Linked DNA regions of Homo sapiens: regions 2, 3 and 4 are each linked to region 1. Evidence: promoter capture Hi-C in 16 types of primary human blood cells and fetal thymus (Javierre and others, 2016). All regions are on one chromosome and are shown on one strand. Each heading gives the region's core, a stretch centred on a gene start or on the middle of the fragment in contact. The rest is flanking DNA. Distances are from core to core; before and after follow the strand shown.

Region 1 (2,597 bases), core at 98-2,597:
AGGGGATGCCCAGGCATGGACAGTGGGTGGCAGGGGGGGAGAGGAGGGCTGTCTGCTTCCCAGAAGTCCAAGGACACAAATGGGTGAGGGGACTGGGCAGGGTTCTGACCCTGTGGGACCAGAGTGGAGGGCGTAGATGGACCTGAAGTCTCCAGGGACAACAGGGCCCAGGTCTCAGGCTCCTAGTTGGGCCCAGTGGCTCCAGCGTTTCCAAACCCATCCATCCCCAGAGGTTCTTCCCATCTCTCCAGGCTGATGTGTGGGAACTCGAGGAAATAAATCTCCAGTGGGAGACGGAGGGGTGGCCAGGGAAACGGGGCGCTGCAGGAATAAAGACGAGCCAGCACAGCCAGCTCATGTGTAACGGCTTTGTGGAGCTGTCAAGGCCTGGTCTCTGGGAGAGAGGCACAGGGAGGCCAGACAAGGAAGGGGTGACCTGGAGGGACAGATCCAGGGGCTAAAGTCCTGATAAGGCAAGAGAGTGCCGGCCCCCTCTTGCCCTATCAGGACCTCCACTGCCACATAGAGGCCATGATTGACCCTTAGACAAAGGGCTGGTGTCCAATCCCAGCCCCCAGCCCCAGAACTCCAGGGAATGAATGGGCAGAGAGCAGGAATGTGGGACATCTGTGTTCAAGGGAAGGACTCCAGGAGTCTGCTGGGAATGAGGCCTAGTAGGAAATGAGGTGGCCCTTGAGGGTACAGAACAGGTTCATTCTTCGCCAAATTCCCAGCACCTTGCAGGCACTTACAGCTGAGTGAGATAATGCCTGGGTTATGAAATCAAAAAGTTGGAAAGCAGGTCAGAGGTCATCTGGTACAGCCCTTCCTTCCCTTTTTTTTTTTTTTTTTTGTGAGACAAGGTCTCTCTCTGTTGCCCAGGCTGGAGTGGCGCAAACACAGCTCACTGCAGCCTCAACCTACTGGGCTCAAGCAATCCTCCAGCCTCAGCCTCCCAAAGTGCTGGGATTACAAGCATGAGCCACCCCACTCAGCCCTTTCCTTCCTTTTTAATTGATGCATAATAATTGTAAGTATTCATCATGGTCCAACCAACCCTTTCTTGACCCACCTTCCTAGAGAGAGGGTCCTCTTGCTTCAGCGGTCAGGGCCCCAGACCCATGGTCTGGCTCCAGGTACCACCTGCCTCATGCAGGAGTTGGCGTGCCCAGGAAGCTCTGCCTCTGGGCACAGTGACCTCAGTGGGGTGAGGGGAGCTCTCCCCATAGCTGGGCTGCGGCCCAACCCCACCCCCTCAGGCTATGCCAGGGGGTGTTGCCAGGGGCACCCGGGCATCGCCAGTCTAGCCCACTCCTTCATAAAGCCCTCGCATCCCAGGAGCGAGCAGAGCCAGAGCAGGATGGAGAGGAGACGCATCACCTCCGCTGCTCGCCGCTCCTACGTCTCCTCAGGGGAGATGATGGTGGGGGGCCTGGCTCCTGGCCGCCGTCTGGGTCCTGGCACCCGCCTCTCCCTGGCTCGAATGCCCCCTCCACTCCCGACCCGGGTGGATTTCTCCCTGGCTGGGGCACTCAATGCTGGCTTCAAGGAGACCCGGGCCAGTGAGCGGGCAGAGATGATGGAGCTCAATGACCGCTTTGCCAGCTACATCGAGAAGGTTCGCTTCCTGGAACAGCAAAACAAGGCGCTGGCTGCTGAGCTGAACCAGCTGCGGGCCAAGGAGCCCACCAAGCTGGCAGACGTCTACCAGGCTGAGCTGCGAGAGCTGCGGCTGCGGCTCGATCAACTCACCGCCAACAGCGCCCGGCTGGAGGTTGAGAGGGACAATCTGGCACAGGACCTGGCCACTGTGAGGCAGAAGTGAGGAGGGGATGGGGAAGGGGGGCCTTGTGAGCAGAAGGGGCTGAATCCCCAAGAAGGAGTGCCCGAGAAGTCTCAGGGAGGGGCCGAACCTCCCTGCTCCCTGGGCCTCCCTACCTCTTGATGGGGCACTATCCTTGCCCCCCAACATGATGGGAGGGACCAGAAACAGGCCCAGGGCCCCGGGGATCTGATGCCCGCATGCCTTCTGCCAGGAGTCCAGGGTCCCCTCAGCACCTCCCTACTGGGGAAAGCAGTGCAGGAGCAGCGGGGCCCCTGTGTTTCATTCATGGCTGGGCTTTGTGACTGTGGGCAGCGAGCTCACCTATTCTGAGCCTGTGTCCATATAAAGGAGGAGTTGGAAGCGGAGAAGGTTGATGTCCATGAGGGAGATTGGATTCTGGGGTGAAGAAAGTGAGGGAAAGAGCAGGCAGGTCTGGGCGCAAAGCACAGGTGACTGCCTGCCACCAGCTTGTGACCCCCATCAAGTTACTTTGACTTGCACAGCTGTGAAGCGGTGGTCATAATAAAATTCATTTCAAAAGGTGGTTACCTGGGATCAGAGGAATCCCCAGGGGCATGGCGCTTCACTGAGCTGACAGGACATGCATGTGTGCCTTCAAGTGCAGGAGGACATGTGCGTGTGTGTGTGTGTGTGTGCAACAGTGAGTGTATGCTTGTGGATGCGCCTGTGTGAGCAGAAGCAGGTGCACCAACCCTGATAAGGCACCTTAGTAATGAGTTAAGGCAAAAGCCCACATCTGCTCATCCTCCAG
Region 2 (2,597 bases), core at 63-2,562, 120 kb before region 1:
TGGATGGTCAGTGAAGGAATGAGCTACAGAGGGGCTTGTTGGACAGGAACAGCTGTTATTTGTCAAGGCCCTTTTAAGTTGGGGACCCGGAGCCTCCCTGGGCGTGTGCTCCTTTGTCCGCTTGGCCTTCCTGATGGAGGCCAAGCAGCTGTTGGTCTGTTTCCACAGACACTCGGTCAAGGCACTGAGAAGGGAGGATACTCATTAGGTAACCCGGGAGGCTGGAATTTCCATCTGTGCTCTGGCCATTGTCCACACACCCCCTCAGCCCCCATTCTGCAGGAAGAAAACAGTATGATAATCAAGAAATTATTTCTCTTTGGCTCTGAATCGATTTGCCTACAAACAGATTCATCTTCCTTACTTTGTCTCATTAGTCTAAAGGTAAATTAATTTTTCATTCCTTGAGTACATTAAAGGCAGGGGTCTAGACTAGGGGTTAGGAGCCCTGAACTGCATCCAGCCTTTGATAATAGCTGCTGGTGGGAAGTCCCCTCCCTTCTCTGGTCCTCAGTCTCCACTGCTGTAAAAGAAGAGTTAGAATTTATCCTGAGCGCTGTTACACATCAGAACTGCCTGGGTGGGCAGATCACCTGAGGTCAGGAGTTTGAGCCAGCCTGGCCAACATGGTGAAACCTCGTCTCTACTAAAAATACAAAAAAATCAGCCAGGCATGGTGGTGCATACCTGTAATCCTAGCTACTCGGGAGGCTGAGGCAGGACAATCTCTTGAACCCAGGAGGCAGAGATTGCAGTGGGCCCAGATTGCACCGCTGCACGCCACCCTGGGGGACAGAGAGAGACTCTTGTCTCAAGAAAAGAAAAGAAAAGAAAAAAAGGCCAGGCATGGTGGCTCACGCCTGTAATCCCAGCACTTTGGGAGGCCGAGGTGGGTGGATCACCTGAAGTCAGGAGTTTGAGACCAGCCTGACCAACATGGTGAAACCCCATCTCTACTAAAAATACAAAAAAATTAGCCAGGCATGGTGGTGGGCACCTGTAATCCCAGCTATTCGGGAGTTTGAGGCAGGAGAATGGCGTGAACCCGGGAGGCAGAGCTTGCAGTGAGCCGAGATCACACCACTGCACTCCAGCCTGGGCAACAGAGTGAGACTCTGTCTCAAAAAAAAAAAAAAAAAGCTCTTGAAGCTTGGCGTGGTGGTTTACGCCTGTAATCCCAGTACTTTGGGAGGCTGAGGTGGGTGGATCACCTGAGGTCAGGAGTTCGAGACCAGCCATGGCCAACCTGGCAAAACCCCATGTCTACTAAAAATACAAAAATTAGCTGGGCATGGTGACGGCTGCATGTAATCCCAACTACTTGGGAGTCTGAGGCAGGAGAATCGCTTGAACCTGAGAGGCGGAGGTTGCAGTGAGCTGAGATGCGCCATTGCACTCCAGCCTGGGCAACGACAAGAGTGAAATTCCATCTAAAAAAAAAAAAATTCTTTCTAGATTTTCTATTTCAAAGCTTCAGCTGAGTGGCTGACATTTTGTTTGTTTGTTTTGTTTGTTTGTTTTTACAACTGAACCCTGTCCTTTTTGTGACCTAGAGGGAGATCACCAGCCTCAGAGAGATGGAGGAGAAATTATTATTTTTTTTAATAGAGAGAGAGCCTTGCTGTATTGCCCAGGCTGGCCTCGAACTCCTGGTCTCAAGCAATCCTCCTGCCTCAACCTCCCAAAGCACTGGGATTACAGGCGTGAACACCGTGCGTGGCCTAGAAATGATTGTTAAATAGTTGATTAATGTAGCTAGGTCTCTCCATTTGGATGATGACTCCGTGGTGGATAGTTTCCTCTCTCCACCTCTGGCTTTCCGGGGTGAGAATGAGCAGTGGCAGATTTCAATTTCTAGGTTGGTCCCCTGCTGCCCCAAGCCAGGCACCAACTCAGCCACATCCAAGCAGCTGCCTCCCCTGTCATTTGGTGTGTCCTCACGGGAGGCAAACTCATTTCAGTGTAAGCTCAAGCAAAGTGTAATTAGGACAGTAAATCTGCTGCTTAACGGCAACAAAAAAAGTCCTATGGCAGATTTTACAGTCCTGGAGAAGTGATTTGAGGCTGAAGGAAGGGTGGGAGAGACCTGGCCTTTGATTTAATTGCTTCCAGCCTGGGAACAAAGTCCAAGACATGGTAACCTCATTTACTCCAGAAAATGCACCATGACTCCTTAAAAGTTTATGGTGTGATAGTCTGAGGTTGGAGGAATAGGGACATGATTTCATGAAAGTCTTTTTTTTTTTCCTTTCTATGCCTTGCAGTGGAACTGTAACTCCTACTTTTCACCCTGTATCACTATCCTCACTTCCATTTTTGGGATATTTACCATTTATCAAGCAACATACCATGGACTGCAGATGCATTTTCTTTTTCTTTTTTTTTTTCTCTGAGACGGAGTCTCGCTCTGTCACCCAGGCTGGGGTGCAGGGGCGCAATCTCCGCTCACTGCAACCTCCGCCTCCTGGGTTCAAGCGATTCTCCTGCCTCAGCCTCCCGAGTAGCTGGGACTGCAGGCGCCCGCCACCAGGCCTGGCTAATTTTTTGTATTTTTAGTAGAGACGGGGTTTTACCATGTTAGCCAGGATGGTCTCGAT
Region 3 (2,597 bases), core at 47-2,546, 91 kb before region 1:
GGAGCCCCTGCTGCACAGCCCGCTGGCCCAGAGATCATGCAGGTAGTCACTTCCCCTCCCTGCTGCAGAGAGGTTAGGGTGGGACCAGGAAATCCTGGGAGATGGTGGAGGAAGATGGGCAGAGCAGGAGAGAGTGGGGAGGGCCTGGGAGTCAGGAAACCTGAAGTGGAGATTAAAGCAGTGGCTGGGTCAGGCACAGTGGCTCACATCTGTGATCCCAGCACTTTGGGAGGCTGAGGCAGGTGGATCACCTGAGATCAGGAGTTTGAGACAAGCCTGGTCAACATGGTGGAAACCCGTCTCTACTAAAAATACAAAAATTAGCTGGGTGTGGTGGCATGCGCCTGTAATTCCAACTACTTGGGAGGCTGAGGCAGGAGAATCACTTGAACCCGGGAAGCAGAGGTTGCAGTGAGCTGAGATCGTGCCACTGCACTCCAGCCTGGGCGACAGAGCAAAATTCTGTCAAAAAAAAAAACAAAAAAAACAGTGGCTGGAGAGTCCGAGACCTGGGTTGGAGTCCTGGCTTTGCTTGACCTCTCTGGGTGACTGTGGGCATGTGGCCTCCCCAGTCTGGCCTGTGAACCGAGAAAGTCTGATGGCATGGGCTCTGGGCCTGTTCTCCTGTTGAAGTCTGGGAGTTCTGTAGCCCCAAGAGACATCTGTTACTAGAGGGAGGGAGTGAAATGGAGATGGACAGTAGGAGGGGGTTGCAACACCTATTACCAATGGTGGGAGGGGTAATCACAGCCGGGAGCCTCTGGGCCCCACAAGGAGTCTCCACCACTCCCCCCAGCTCCTCTTCTGTCGCTGCCCCTCAGATTCAATTACCAGCTCAGCTTTCAAATCGGGCTCCAGCCAGTAACTTTACTGGAGAAAATTATTATGTGATTATTTCAACCTTGCTCCAAACGCTGTTTTAATTGGATCTGGGAAAAGGCGATTTGGGCATCAGAGGAGCCACGCGGGGGCGGGAGCAGCATAGGAATGTCAGGCAGGGGAGCCCCACCTGCCCATGAGGTTCGAAAGGCAGACAGGACTGCTTCCCAGCCCCCTACCTCTCCCCAGGCCCCCCACGTTCATCGTAGATGGAGGGTAAGCCTCAGCCGGAAAGAGAAAATGGGTGTGGGGAGAAAGGCTTCCCAGGCAAGTGGGTTGTGGAGGGGGTTGGAGGGGGTTGGAGGGGGTTGGAGGGGGTTGGAGGGGGTTGGGGGGGTTTGGAGGGGGTTGGAGGGGGTTGGGGGGGTTGGAGGGGGTTGGAGGGGGTTGGAGGGGTTGGAGGGGGTTGGAGGGGGTTGGAGGGGGTTGGAGGGGTTGGAGGGGGTTGGAGGGGGTTGGAGGGGGTTGGAGGGAACAGGTTCCTAGCAGCCTGTCTCCTGCCCAAAGCAGCCATCAGCCACTTAGAAAACTACTTTCCTGCCAATTTCCTTCCCTCCTCTGCCCCCAGTCCCAGCCCACCTGGAATAGACTTTTGCTCAAACACTAGCCCAAGGAAGCAGAGTTGGAAAGAACATTTGATTTTCCAGGATCCAGGAGGGCCTTTGAAAGGGATTTGGATTTATCTGCTCCTGGGATCACCCTTTCTCCCTGCTAGACAGATGACTGGTGTTTGAACATATGCTAACCTTTCTGAGCTTTGGTTTTCCCATCTGTCAAAGAGAGGGTCCTAGGTGACCCCCAAGACCCCTCCCAGGAACGAAGGAAGCCATTTGCACTGGTTCTCCCTGTGCTCTGGCTCTCCATGAGGCTAGAGAAGTCCAGCACCAACTCTTTGGTGGCCAATTCTGCAGGGGCTTGTAGGCGCTGAGCCTTGTAGAGCCCATCTGCCTCGCAGCTAAGGATGTCCCTCCCCACCCCGAGCCAGAGCTCAGCCAGGTGCCAGGAGCGAGAGTGGGCCTGGGATTGGGGCAGGAGGAGAGGGGAGGGGTGTGCTGAAAGGTTGAGGGGCCAGGAGGAAGGACGCATCTTCATGGTCTTGAGGTCTGGCTTTCTCAGGGCTCTCTGTAACTCCTTTTCTCCACACCTTAACAAACACCATGTCAACACTTCTTTAAAAATTGTTTATTTTGTTTAGAAATGAGGTCTTGCTCTGTTACCCAGGCTCGGGTGCATTGGCTCCATCATAGTTCACTGCAGCCTCTACCTCCTGGGTTCAAGCAATTCTCCTGCCTCAGCCTCCTGAGAAGCTGAAACTACAGGTGCACACCACCATGCCTGGCTAATATTTTAAATTTTTTGTAGAAATGGGGTCTTACTATGTTGCCTAGGCTAGTCTTGACCTCCTGAGCTCAAGTGATCCTCCCACCTTAGCCTTCCAAAATGCTGGGATTACAAGTATAAGCCACAGTGCCCAGCCAATGCTTTTTAAATATTTTTTATTTTTTTAGAGATAGGGTCTTGCTCTGTCACCCAGGCTGGAGTGCAGTAGCCCAGTCATTGCTCACTGTAACTTCAAACTCCTGGGCGTAAGTGATCCTCCTGCCTCACTCAACACTTTTTAAAAAAAATCGCTTAGGTGGCTCATGCCTGTAATCTCAGCACTTTGGGAGGCTGAGGCTGATGGATCACTTGTTCCCAGGAGTTTGAGACCAGCCTGG
Region 4 (2,597 bases), core at 55-2,554, 65 kb before region 1:
GCGAAACTGCCAAGGCAGGAGAGGGATGGGAAGATGTTGATCCTGGGACGAGAGAAGAATTCTGGGTGATTTCCAAGTGTTCCACTGGAAGAGCCCAATGTCTGGGTCCCCAGGCTGGGCACTCTGACACTGCTCTCTGGCCCCTTGGGGGAATCACATTTTGTTGTGCGTTTGTTTGGTTTTGATCAACTCTAAACACTATGTAAGCAAGAACCTTGTCTGGCTTTCTCACTGGCTCCCAGGACGCAGCTCAGGACCTGGCACTCGGATGAGCAATGGTTGTTGAGTAAATACATGAATGAACCCGTGAAAGCATGAATCAATCAGGACATCAAAACCTGGACGGAAAGCTGCACTGCTGATTAAAAAAACAGGAAAACAGCAGTCAGTGCAACTTTCCCTCCTTTGTATTATGATTCCTTTTTTGCCTTACTGATTTTATAGAAATGATTGTTCTCAGATTGCAGAGCACAAACTGGCTGATTGATGCCCCAGAACTAATACCGTGAGACAGACCCGAGGCGAGAAGGACGATTATTTAACACAGCACCAGGGGCATGTGGGGTCATCATTCTTGTGCATGGTAAAGCGACGAAATAAAAAGTTTATGCCCAAAACACACTGGGTTCCTCATAGTGGCTTCATTCCCCAACCCCCTCCTCAAGCACCCTGTCTCATTCACCAGTTCCTTCCCTGTCTAGCAGGTCCTGGGTGCCTGGGAGCAGAGAGTTGGCCCATTCTCCCCAAGTCCAGCTTCAAGGTCCAGGGACCTGGGCAAGGTGTGGTTAACACTGCCCACGTTTTGGGGAGGGGGCCAGTGGCTCCCCTGCTCTCTACTGTGACACTGGGAGGCAAGGGCAGCCAGGCCGATTCCTGGTTTCATCTGGGCCCCTGTGGGTGATGAGATGGGCAGTGATGGGTGAGCTGGCAGCCAGGCTGGAGTGGCATGGCCAGCTGCCCTGGGGACTGTCTTCCCTGCTTGTCACCACTCCCGGCTGCCCAAGCAGCAAAGCCACAGTGACAAGATCCAGAGGGGAAAGGCTCCAGCTGGGGGTGGTGCTGGTCTCATGGCCACCGGAGCAGCAATGTGACAGCTTCTCATCTGGGTGGGGGGGCCTCGGTCCCCACCCCCTTCCCCCTCTGGCTTGACCCTTGTCAGTCTCTATTTCTTTGCCTTGCCTTTGTCTCTGCCTTGCTTCCACACCAGGCTTCTATCAGCTCTGAATGGCCCTTGGTCCATGCCTCTCTCCCTCTCTCCTCCCTCTTCCTCACTTCCTGACTTCAGGACCTGTTCCCTCCTGCTCCCTACAAGCATGCATACACACACATACACACACACACACACACACACACACACACACACACACGCACTCATACCCCACCTCAGATAGGAAACAGGACTTGCCCTCCCAGGACCTGTGTTAAGACCTATGGGGAGTGGCTGGGATCTGGGCCCCCAGTGGGTCTGTGAGCATGAGGTGGTGAGTGTGCAAAAGTGTGAGCCTATGAGAGTGAGTATCAACGTGGACGTGGGAGTTGGAAAGCATGTGTGTACATGTGTGAGTGTGACAGTGAAGTGTTGAAAGAGTGAGGGTGGGGGTCAGTGTGGCCTTGGCCACATGAGCACGCAGGTGAGCTGTGGTGAGGGTGGAAGGATGTGAGTGACTGGGTGTGAAAGCGGAGCCCAGGGCAGATGGACAAACGCATCCTTCAAGCTCGTGTTCCTGGATATAGAGGCTGCCGGCCCCATACCCTCCTTGATCACCCCCTCTTTGTCATCCTGGGCTCCCTCAAATCAGGCCAGGGTGTGGGAAGGGGGAGTGAAGCTGCTGAGCTCCGGGCAGGGCCCTGCCCGCTCCCTGGGCCTGTCAGCCACTGATCTGTTCCATGTTCCTATAAATATTTACAAATCCCAGCTGCTGAGGAGCAAGACATCCTCCGCCAGCTGGGGCTCCCAGCCTGGAAACTGGCAGGGAGGGAGCTAGCAATCGAGGAGCAGCGGGGAGGAGAGGTGGGACTGCACTGGAGACTGGAGAGGCAGGCATCCAGGACTCCTGAGTTCTGCTCCTAGTTTTACCAATGGTTGGCCTAAAGTGCTCGAGTATGTCTTCATCAGGAACTGTAGAGCCAGAAATACCTTCCAAGATAACATGGGAAACCTGCCCCACCCCTACCTGATAAGCACTCCCCACTCGACAGCCAACCTCCTGCCTTCTAGTCATGTCTCTCAATTAGGGGCAAAGAGAGGGATCTTCTTGTGTTTTTGTTTTTTTTTTTTTTCTGTAGAGACAAGGTCTTGCCATGTTGCCCAGCCTGTGATCTCAACTCCTGGCTTCAAGCAATCCTCCTGCCTCTGCCTCCCAAAGGACTGGGATTACAGGGCCGAGCCACCACACTCAGCCTCTTCTTACTTTTTACATGACACAGAAAATTCTCCTGGAGTCCCTGGAGGGTATTACGTCTTTGAACTCAAAATCTTTCCCTGGACCCACGATCAATCCATCAGGCTCTTTCTAGATTGGAAGCTGGAAGACCTGCAGCTCAGTGACCCCCATCACAAGAGCCCCTTCTGTAGCCCCCGATAGGAACTAAAGCAT

What was found. Contacts are between HindIII fragments. The CHiCAGO score rates a contact against its expected background, and 5 or more counts as called.
Region 2: a contact is called between a fragment that was not itself captured here and the fragment with the promoter of GFAP in region 1, in 3 of 17 cell types (endothelial precursors, erythroblasts and M1 macrophages). The highest score is 6.0, in endothelial precursors.
Region 3: a contact is called between a fragment that was not itself captured here and the fragment with the promoter of GFAP in region 1, in 5 of 17 cell types (endothelial precursors, megakaryocytes, erythroblasts and 2 more). The highest score is 9.9, in endothelial precursors.
Region 4: a contact is called between a fragment that was not itself captured here and the fragment with the promoter of GFAP in region 1, in 3 of 17 cell types (endothelial precursors, megakaryocytes and erythroblasts). The highest score is 7.4, in endothelial precursors.

Annotation. Positions count from the first base shown.
Region 1 is chr17:44,914,250-44,916,846 of GRCh38, reverse strand. GFAP (glial fibrillary acidic protein) reads left to right here and starts at 1,347. Exons shown (of 9, transcript NM_002055.5): 1 at 1,347-1,821. The coding sequence starts at 1,361. The HindIII fragment of the contact is 16,653 bases long and covers 1-2,597 here.
Region 2 is chr17:45,036,310-45,038,906 of GRCh38, reverse strand. The region is part of intron 1 of DCAKD (dephospho-CoA kinase domain containing); the gene reads left to right. Among named protein-coding and RNA genes, the nearest start is that of DCAKD, 14 kb to the left of the region's middle. RefSeq lists an enhancer at 2,362-2,597. The HindIII fragment of the contact is 322 bases long and covers 1,152-1,473 here.
Region 3 is chr17:45,005,403-45,007,999 of GRCh38, reverse strand. The region is part of intron 2 of LOC107987243 (a long non-coding RNA gene); the gene reads left to right. Among named protein-coding and RNA genes, the nearest start is that of C1QL1, 38 kb to the right of the region's middle. RefSeq lists an enhancer at 1,396-2,352. The HindIII fragment of the contact is 5,941 bases long and covers 1-2,597 here.
Region 4 is chr17:44,979,108-44,981,704 of GRCh38, reverse strand. It overlaps the pseudogene LOC112268183. Among named protein-coding and RNA genes, the nearest start is that of C1QL1, 12 kb to the right of the region's middle. The HindIII fragment of the contact is 3,216 bases long and covers 1-2,597 here.